Regions from separate parts of the Homo sapiens genome. Here all the other regions are linked to region 1. Evidence: promoter capture Hi-C in 16 types of primary human blood cells and fetal thymus (Javierre and others, 2016). All regions are on one chromosome and are shown on one strand. Each heading gives the region's core, a stretch centred on a gene start or on the middle of the fragment in contact. The rest is flanking DNA. Distances are from core to core; before and after follow the strand shown. Region 1 holds the start of MAP3K5-AS1 (MAP3K5 antisense RNA 1). Region 2 holds the start of SLC35D3 (solute carrier family 35 member D3). Region 3 overlaps PEX7 (peroxisomal biogenesis factor 7).

The links. Contacts are between HindIII fragments. The CHiCAGO score rates a contact against its expected background, and 5 or more counts as called.
Region 2: a contact is called between the fragment with the promoter of SLC35D3 here and the fragment with the promoter of MAP3K5-AS1 in region 1, in 16 of 17 cell types (activated CD4 T cells, non-activated CD4 T cells, total B cells and 13 more). The highest score is 18.5, in activated CD4 T cells.
Region 3: a contact is called between a fragment that was not itself captured here and the fragment with the promoter of MAP3K5-AS1 in region 1, in 1 of 17 cell types (total B cells). The highest score is 5.4, in total B cells.

Annotation. Positions count from the first base shown.
Region 1 is chr6:136,627,495-136,630,702 of GRCh38, forward strand. MAP3K5-AS1 (MAP3K5 antisense RNA 1) reads left to right here and starts at 1,620. Exons shown (of 3, transcript NR_125858.1): 1 at 1,620-1,782. The region is part of intron 14 of MAP3K5 (mitogen-activated protein kinase kinase kinase 5); the gene reads right to left. It also overlaps the pseudogene RNA5SP219. The HindIII fragment of the contact is 14,560 bases long and covers 1-3,208 here.
Region 2 is chr6:136,920,574-136,923,781 of GRCh38, forward strand. It overlaps SLC35D3 (solute carrier family 35 member D3), which reads left to right and starts at 1,728. Exons shown (of 2, transcript NM_001008783.3): 1 at 1,728-2,294. The coding sequence starts at 1,856. RefSeq lists an enhancer at 750-1,256. The HindIII fragment of the contact is 1,879 bases long and covers 962-2,840 here.
Region 3 is chr6:136,889,272-136,892,479 of GRCh38, forward strand. The region is part of intron 8 of PEX7 (peroxisomal biogenesis factor 7); the gene reads left to right. Among named protein-coding and RNA genes, the nearest start is that of SLC35D3, 31 kb to the right of the region's middle. The HindIII fragment of the contact is 569 bases long and covers 1,497-2,065 here.

The DNA.
Region 1 (3,208 bases), core at 370-2,869:
GCGTACCCCCCTCTTCAGCGCCCTCAAAATCTGTATGTTGAAACCGAATCACAATGTATTAAGAGTTAGGCCCTTTAGAAGGTGATTAGGTCATGAGGCTAGAGCTCTCATGAATGGGATTAGTCCCCTTATGAAAGAGGCTTGAAGGAGCCTGGTTGAGCCTTCAGCCATGTGAGCACCCACAGAAGGTACCATCTAGAGGAAGTAGGCCCTCACCAGACACTGAATCTGCTGGTGCCTTGATCTTGGATTTCTCAGCCTCTGGAACTGTGAGCAAAGCATTTCTATTGGGTATAAATTACCCAGCCTAAGGCATTTTGTTATAGCGGCCTGGATGGACCAAGACAATGCCCTTCAAGATCTTACGGCTACCTCTGTCATCCTCGTCTGGACACTTGAGCTCTTCGAGACTTGGGACTTCATCCTTAATTACTCTATCCCCAGTTTTAGCATGTAGCTTGTAGTAGATGCTCAGTAATTATTTGCTTAACTAATTAATCAAGTTATAGAAAAATGTGATGAGAACTTTTTTAGAAAAGAACTAGATCCCAAAACAAAACATTTAGAGTCATTATTGGTTTATTCTTGGGTGAAAGCATTTTTCCAATAGATATATTTAAATCTTTTTTTTTTTTTAAAGAGTGTTTTGCTCTGTCGCCTAGGCCGGAGTGCAGTGGTGCCATCATAGCTCATTGCAGCCTTGAACTCCTAGGTTCAAGCAATCCTCCCACTTCAGCCTCCTCAACAGCTGGGACTTCAGGTGTACAGCACTATGTCCAGCTAATTTTTTCTATTTTTTGTAGAGATGGGGTCTTGCTATGTTGCCCAGGCTGGCCTTGAACTCCTGGCCTCAACTGATCCTGCTGCCTCGGCCTCCCAACCACTGGGAGTACAGGTGGGAGCCATCATACTCAGCAGTTTTTTTTTTTAAAGAGATGGAGTCCTGCTATGTTACCCAGGCTGGACTCAAAGTCCTGGGCTCAAGTGATCCTCCCAAATAGCTGGGACTCAGGTGCACACCACCAGGTCCAGCTCTACAACAGGTATGCTTATATAGAAGAGTGAAGAATACATAAACCTTGATGAGGCTGCTAAAGTTTTAATTTCCCCTAGGAATCTAAGGCATCAGAAGACTATTTTTTAAAAGATTACGTATTAGATACAGATTTAAAAGATTATGTATTAGATATAGAAGATTAGATATAGAAGCTGACTCCTGTTAAACAAAATGGTGATAGTAAAATGAAAAGGAATTGTAAAAAGAGCAGTGTTATTTAAGTAAAACCATCTCTGTGGGTAATTGCTGCTTTGTTTTTCTATCTCCCCTTTCTATTCTTACGAGATAAAGATAGAAATTGAAATGGCAGTTTTGAAAGAAAGCTGAAAAGAAACAAGAGACTGGTTCAGCCTAGAAGGACAGAGAATCATCTATGTAATGTCCAGGAATAGTAGAAGAGAGGGTTTTAAAAAATAAAAGGTAACATTACATTGCTTATATATTTTGCATTCTATTTCTATGGTAATAGGTTAGCAAATCAGGTTGTTGCTAAGGGAAACAAGAATTTCATTCTGAGGCAATCATGAGAATTTTTCTAGAATCATCTCTTTATTGCTGTCTGCTCAGAACAATCAAAACTGGTAGCGGGAAGAGAATCAGTGTAGGAAGGCAACATTGACAAGGCCAAACAACGAAGTGGTGACTCACTGAGTCCTTGCACTCTCGAAGGAAACAACCACCTTAGAAAAAACCATGCACTTTCGGCGGGGGCTTAATCACATTAGGTGAGTAATCACCTCAAAGACCCAAATGGCAGCTCTGTTAATGTTCAGTCTGTATGGCCTTCTTTATATGTAAATGCCAAAACATTAATAACTACTAATAACATTAATAGAATGCCAAAAACACTGCAGGTACAAATATCTAGTGTGATGGATCTCTCCTCCCTTAGATCTTTACTCACATCTCACCTTTTTTTTTGAGAAGGAGTCACGCTCTGTCGCCCAGGCTGGAGTGCAGTGGCACAATCTCAGCTCGCTGCAAGCTCCGCCTCCCAGGTTCACGCCATTCTCCTGCCTCAGCCTCCCGAGCAGCTGGGACTACAGGTGCCCGCCACCACACCCAGCTAATTTTTTGTATTTTTAGTAGAGATGGGCTTTCACCTTGTTAGCCAGGATGGTCTCAATCTCCTGACCTCATGATCCACCCGCCTTGGTCTCCCAAAGTGCTGAGATTACAGGTGTGAGCCATGGCGCCCGGCCATATCTCACCTTCATTTATTTATTTATTTATTTATTTATTTATTTATTTATTTATTTAGAGTCTCACTCTGTCGCCCAGGCTGGAGTGCCTAGGTTCAAGCGATTCTCCTGCTTTAGCCTCCCGAGTAGCTGGGATTACAGGCGCTTGCCACCATGCCCGGCTAATTTTTGTATTTTCAGTAGAGATGGGGTTTCGCCATTTTAGCCAGGTTGGTCTCAAACTCCTGACCTCAAACAATCCAACTCCTCTGCCTCCCAAAGTGCTGGGATTACAGGCATGAGCCACCACACCCGGCCTAAATCTTACCTTCTTAATGAGCTTCCCAGGCCTTCCTATCTAAAATTGCACGTCCCTGCTACACTGTAACTTCCTAAACCCTTCCCTGGTTTATTATTCTCCTTAACCCTGATCACCATCTAACATACTATAGATGGTATTTTACTTATTTGTGTTTATTGTCCGTCTCTCATTAGAAAGTAACCTGAGTCTACAGCTATACCACCCTGAATGCGTCCAATCTCTTCTGATCTCGGAAGCTAAGCAGAGTTGGGCCCGATTAAGACTTAGATGAGAGCATGTAAGCTCTCAGTGATAGCAGGAATTTCTCTCCATTTTGTTCTCTGCCATCTCTCCAGCACATGGAATGGTGCCTACCATTCAATAGCTGTCCAAAAATATGTGAGTGCATTAGTGAGATCCATTTGGACCCACTGATGTGGATGAAGATGATTTTAGGCTGAAAACATCAGAAAAACAGCAGCAGCAGAAAAAAACCTTATCTAAATTTCTTTTGCGGACATAAGCAATGCCTCCTAAAATACATCTGCCATTTATTTCCTCTCCAGGAGGTTAATGACCAAAGAGGAGATAGACCACTTGCACCTAGAGGAGATGTTGCATAAACAAAACCTTATCAAAACTTTCTGTTCCTCACACTTATTTCTCATT
Region 2 (3,208 bases), core at 478-2,977, 290 kb after region 1:
CATCCAGAGCCCCAAATGCTGGCCCAAATGAAGGGCTGCTGTGATGCTGCTGATCCCTGCTGTAATTTTTTTTTCTTCCTCTGTTGCGGTAAATCACGACTTCAGCACTTTGGCTGAAGTGTCGCGTTCAGCACAGAGGTGGAAGTAAGAGGCAGAAAACAGAAGAACCACGAGAGAAATGGATCCTGTCTATTAAGGCAACGTGATGCAGCGCTAAAAGGTTAGGAGGTTACGATTCCCGGGGCTAAGAGAAATAAACTGCTGGTGGTGAACGAAAGGGGTGCTGGAGCGCAGCGATCTCGAACCTTTCCCTTATAGCCAAACCCTGGCCAAGGCCACAAATTTCAAATCGCCTGAAAACCAAACTGTCTGGCGCTTAACGGTTACCTCGGCTGAGCGAAACCCTTGGCTGCTGCTGATTTAACTACAGGTCCGCGCGAGTTACTTTCCAGGGAACTGAATTCAGAACAAAGAGTTACCGAAGCCTTACTCCCTCTCCAAAATTAGAATTCCCTTTTTCTCTTAGTCATATAGGAAACACACAGTTCACAAGTCCTGTGGTGCAAAGGTGTGAACCCTGGCCCAGGGAGGTGGTGACTCTCCCCGCCCTCCGCCTGCCGGTTGTCCTGCTTCCGAAAGCAACCCACGACGGTCCCGCAGGGTGAGGGTTCCCTGGGATCAGTTCCCTGGGATCCGGAGAACGCCACGCGGAGTCTCCCTGCAGGGTGAGGGGCCCCGGGTTCCCGCCCCCTCCCCCTCTACTCTCCCATTCTGCGAGCGCAGCCAGCCTCCCCTCCCACGCTTCGGGAAGCGTCGCCCCCGAGCTCCTCGGTTCCTGGTGGTGGCTACTCGTGTTAGTGACTTCGTTTCTGCGCGTTTGCTTATTTTCATCTTTGCCTCAGTTCGAATGTGTCCCCGCCACCAGGCCCCGCTGCTGGGCGAGACCACTGAACCCCCTGAAAGCTTCCCCGGAGCCGCGCGCATAATCCCGGGACCCTCTCTGGAAGGCGTGCGGAGAGCGGTGCGCGTGGCCTGGCACCGGAAGGAGCCAGCTTCCGGGCTCCGAGGCACCCCCTGGACAGCGCCCCGGGCCGCGGGTTCCTCCTCCGATGCCCGGGCGTCGTCGCCGGGATCGGGAGCTTCGGGGGCCCGCCGGCACCGACGGTTTTCGCTTCCCTGGCGGGCAGCTGGACGAGGTCCCGCCGCTGCACCGGGAGGGACAGTGGGTGGAAAAAGCCGCTGCAGCGCCGGGGCGAGGGGGCTGGGGGCGCCGTCACTTGTTGCGACCAATAAACGGCGCTCGATCCTGATGCGCTGTTTCTAAAATCTTTAGCTGTGTCCCGATCCCTCCAACCCAAGCCCCTCGGCCAGGAGGAAGGGGCAAGCGAGAGCCGCTGGCTCTGTGGGGGGAGAGGGGCGCCGCGCCCCAAGAGCCCCCGTCCCGCCCTGCGGCAGCCGCCCCGGGGCGCCCAGCCGCCCGCTTCCCTCCGCAGAGCGTCTTCCCTGACGGTGAAACCGCGCGGGACACAACCCACCGCGGCTCATCACCCACTTACAAATAGCTGTCGCTAGGATTCCCGCCACTCCTCTCAGACCGGCCCCCCCGCCACCTCTGCCACTTTTCGGAGTCCCCCGCCCTCGTCACTGCCTCCCCGGAGCTGCGGGGCAGTCGGACGCAGAGCTGCCTAACCGCAAGAACGCCTGGCCGGAGCTGCCCTCTGCAGCCGAGCCGGCGCCCCCTGCCCTTCGCCGCCGCGCTGGGCGGGCGCCCCCGCCGCCCTCACTCCGCTGCTCCCGGCTCCTCGCGCGCAGGTCGCGGAGCTCCGCCACCGCTGGGTGCGGCGAGGCCGGCGCGATGCGGCAGCTGTGCCGGGGCCGCGTGCTGGGCATCTCGGTGGCCATCGCGCACGGGGTCTTCTCGGGCTCCCTCAACATCTTGCTCAAGTTCCTCATCAGCCGCTACCAGTTCTCCTTCCTGACCCTGGTGCAGTGCCTGACCAGCTCCACCGCGGCGCTGAGCCTGGAGCTGCTGCGGCGCCTCGGGCTCATCGCCGTGCCCCCCTTCGGTCTGAGCCTGGCGCGCTCCTTCGCGGGGGTCGCGGTGCTCTCCACGCTGCAGTCCAGCCTCACGCTCTGGTCCCTGCGCGGCCTCAGCCTGCCCATGTACGTGGTCTTCAAGCGCTGCCTGCCCCTGGTCACCATGCTCATCGGCGTCCTGGTGCTCAAGAACGGCGCGCCCTCGCCAGGGGTGCTGGCGGCGGTGCTCATCACCACCTGCGGCGCCGCCCTGGCAGGTGAGCGGGCCCCCGCGCCGACCCCCAGCCGACCCCACCCACCCCGCTCCGTCGGGCAGAGACCGCGGGGATCACTGAGTTCAACGACCTCACTTCCAGATGGGGAGACTGAGGCAGAGAGAGCCGGAGAGCTTTGAGAGTGGTCGCTCAGCTCGCAAAAGGGACTTCCGAGACCCAGAGAGCTCCCCAGCGCCCCACCAAGTCCCCCTGCCCCCTAATGTCCTGGCTTCCGACCCTCGCCCATGCTTCACCCGGCATCGCCCTTCCTGTCGCCCCCTCTCCTGGTCTTCCCCTGTCACCCCATTCTCCGGGAGAGGTGGGAGGGCCGCCTGAGCCTGGGAGCTGGAGTCCTCCAAGCCTGGACCAAGCCGGAAGGAGGGGGCCGTGAACTTCCTTGGGTCACGAGGGGCTGGAATGGAGGTGGGGGATGGGGGCGAAGCTGAGGGTTCCCGGGGCTACTGCGGGGTGTCTCGTGCTGCGCAGGGGGCTGCGGCCCTGGGGCAGACGACCCAGGTGCTGAGCGAGACGAGAGCCTGGGCAGGGGGAAGCTTCACTGGGGGCCAGAACAGGCGTTCTCCCCCGCGCCTGGCCCGCTCCGGGTTGCAGGCCACTGGCTGGGGCTCCCTCTCCCTTTGGTGCCCCACGGGGCAGGGGCTCCGGGGTGCAGGTACCACGCGCCCAAGTGACCTCGGTGCCAGCTCGGGGAAGCCACAGCACCTGCCCCGAGGGCATCTGCGCTCTCCGGGGCCTTTGTCTTGGACAGAGGAAGATGGAGTGACCCGGGGATATGGCGGGAAGGCGCTCTGAGCACTGAGTTTGGCTGTCGCATTTGACACGGGTGGCCGAGGGACGGCGGGCGTCTGTCACTCAGGAATCCGGTGGGCAGAGCTGGGGCGCGAACCCAGTCTCCTTTC
Region 3 (3,208 bases), core at 531-3,030, 260 kb after region 1:
AAAATAATTTCCTATAAAATGAAACAACATATATTAATTGGAAAGAAACTTGTAAGACTTTTGATTTTAAATAGCTTGCTTTATAACTGCAGAGCTTTTTCAGAATTATTTGTTACTAACATTTTTCTTTAAGAATGAAACCAGATCCGTGTCTAATTCATAACTGAATGCAAGCACATGAATAAATAGATAAATCTAAAAGGAACAAGGAATGTTAAGCCTTAGCTTAATGCAGTATAAGTCATTGCTTTGAACTTTGAATTGTGCTGATTAGTTCCAACAGAACATTTATGGACTTTCTAAATTAATTTGCATCATACTTTTTAAAAAATCCTATTGTGTGGTTTCAATAAGGCAACTGAGTAGATTTTGTTGCATGTATTTGTATTTTTTAAATGTAGATACTGCTTTTTCTCATTTTTCGTAGTAGGAAGTCAAAAGATAATATCTGAAAATGACAAAATAAATGAGCTCCATGAGCATATTCTTTAGAAATATAGAGTAAAACATTAGAAGAAGCAACTAAAAGAATTTAGAGTGATTGCCTCTGAGGTGAAAGATTGAGGAAGTACGGCAGGAAGCTGCTGTTTTCTGTTACAAACCTTGTAGAATTAGTTGACTCTAATGTGTGCAATTATAGTTTTTAAGAAAAAGATAATTGAGCAGAAAAACCTGTCTTTCCCTCTCTCCGTTATTTGCACACATAGTAAGCCTATTTACTTAGACCAACTGGGTACTGCCAGTCAGCTGGTAGTAGTTTACACAGTTCCCAGAGAGCATAAGGATGAATAATACACCCTTTGAGGTCTGTCCTGAAACCCTAGTCAAGAGTGTGGCAACACTAAATATTCTAAAATGGAATTCTTAGACATTGGACTTAATGGAATGAACCACGTGGAGATTTAAAAAACCGTAATTATTCATCTATTTTCATCCTAAATAAAATTCAGCAGAGTCCCTTATCTTTCTCCAGTATATTATTTACAGTATGTGTGTCTGTGCACACATGTGTAAAACAGAAACCATCCTTAGATAGCTTAAATATAAACAGGGAAATATTTCTCAGACTATGGGGTCCCCCAGAGCCCAAAGGCAGAAGCACGGTGTGCAGTGTGGCCTATGGAAGGCATTGAAACTGTACAGCCGACTTTGTCATTCCTCCTCCTCCTGCAGGCTGATTTTTTTTTCTTTTTTTACCTCAAGCTTTCATGTCCAGTTACAAGAAAAGGAACAGAATTATTTGGTCTGCTCTGTCTCTGTTTTTTTCTCTCTTTGTCGGTGTCTGTCTTCTCCCCCTCCTCACCCCCATCACCGTGTCCACCCTCTGCTGAGGAGAGAGTTGTTAAATAAAGGAGATCCTTGTAAGCAGTGCAGACATTCCACTACATGACAGCCTGAGTAGGTTTATTCATAAATGCTTAGCTGCAGAGATGAGGACATTAAGTATTTCATGGTAATGTCACTAATAAATGACCAAAGCATAGGCAGCTGCTGTAAGCTTAATGATTGTCAACATTTAGGTGTGGGGTGAAGTTCTAAAGCAACCCCATGTGGTCACATTATCCACTGGTGAAATGCTCTTTTGCTCTAGGTGGGTGCATTTTGGTGCTACCAGTTACGCTTCAGATGTACACAGACTATTCTTATCCTTAAGATAGTGATACTATTTCATGAGTAGAGTTCTTCCAGTTTTACTTCTTTTTTAGTCAAGCATTTATTTGAAGCTGTATTGCAAAAATTATTTCATGATTCTTTGATTTGTACCAGTAAGCAATACACAAACCGCATAGGAGTTTTGCCTCTTTTCCTTTATCTCCTCTTATTGAGATGTGGCATTCTTCAGAAAGTCATCCAGCATCCCTGTGGATCTCTGCCATAAATACTCTCAGAGCAGGCCTTCCATCAGCCTGATGATTTTCTTTAATTTGTCAGAGTACTCTAGGCTTTGTGGTATGTGGTTCCCGGGCTTAATGTTTACTGTGATGAAGTAAAGTCTGCTTCTCTAAAATACTGATCTGATTAGAGTTTTCGATGAAATATTGTGATGGACTCATTTTGAGAAGGAAGCTTAAGTCTAGAATTTTATCATATGTAACCTTCAAAGTTTGTAATTGTGGAGTTTCTGGGTATTAGTGATTGAGCATTCCAAGAGACACCTTTGAAAATTGTTCAGTAGTTTTTCACAATTGATCATGTATTCTTCATTTAGCAGGTAGTTAGGGTTTTTTTCTGTTTTAAACTTTATTTTTATTGTTATTAATACAAGTTCCAAAACCAAAAAACAGTTTTTAATCCAGTCATGCAAATAAATGAATGTTACCATCAGTAAATATTTTTGAGTGAATGAATAGTTTAACTCTATAAAATTGTTCAACAGCCCTTTTTTTTTTTTTTTGAGACAGAGTCTCACTCTGTTGCTCAGGCTCACTGCAGATCACGGTTCACTGCAGCCTCTACCTCCTGGGCTCAAGCGATCCTCCTGCCTCAGCCTCCCAAGTAGCTGGGACTGTAGACATCCACCACCATCCATGCCTGGCTAATTTTTGTATTTTTGGTAGAGACAGGGTTTCATCACGTTGCCCAGGCTGGGCTTGAACTCCTGGCCTTAAGTGATCCACCCGCCTTGCCCTTGCAAAGTGCTACCGGGCCCGACCACTTCTATTTTTTAATCCCTTCCAAAAATGTTACAGATCGTAAAGTAATAGGCCCATGAGTCCATGTGTTCTATAGGGGGTTCATTGCAAAAGGATGGAAATCTGAGTGATTATAGAAAGAGAGTTGAGTGATACATAAGTTAGAAAGAGACAGCAGAGTAGACTAGAGGATGCAATAAGTGCATATAAAAAATATTAAAAGAGAGAAAAGAAAATTCCCAAAGTCCTTGCCATGGTAGTTCAGATGTATTCTGGCTCATAATTTCCTTAGGATTTTTATTGTAAGTGGCTGACTAATGGACTCTTGGCATGGGCTTTGGCTTATGAAATTCTTTCTGTAGTTTGAAGAGTTTAGGGGATACCTGACTTGGTCCATGCCTATTTGAACTTTCAGGGTGTTAATCAAAACTGCCTGAAGAATTGCAGATCCTGCCCACCTATATTTAAAATTTTCTGGCATGACCTAGGCCTAGAGAAAAAAATGTATGGTGCCATCTTTTTTAGTAGAAAAAGTACTAGACATGATGTCAGGAGAGTCTGTGTTTTGGGGCTGC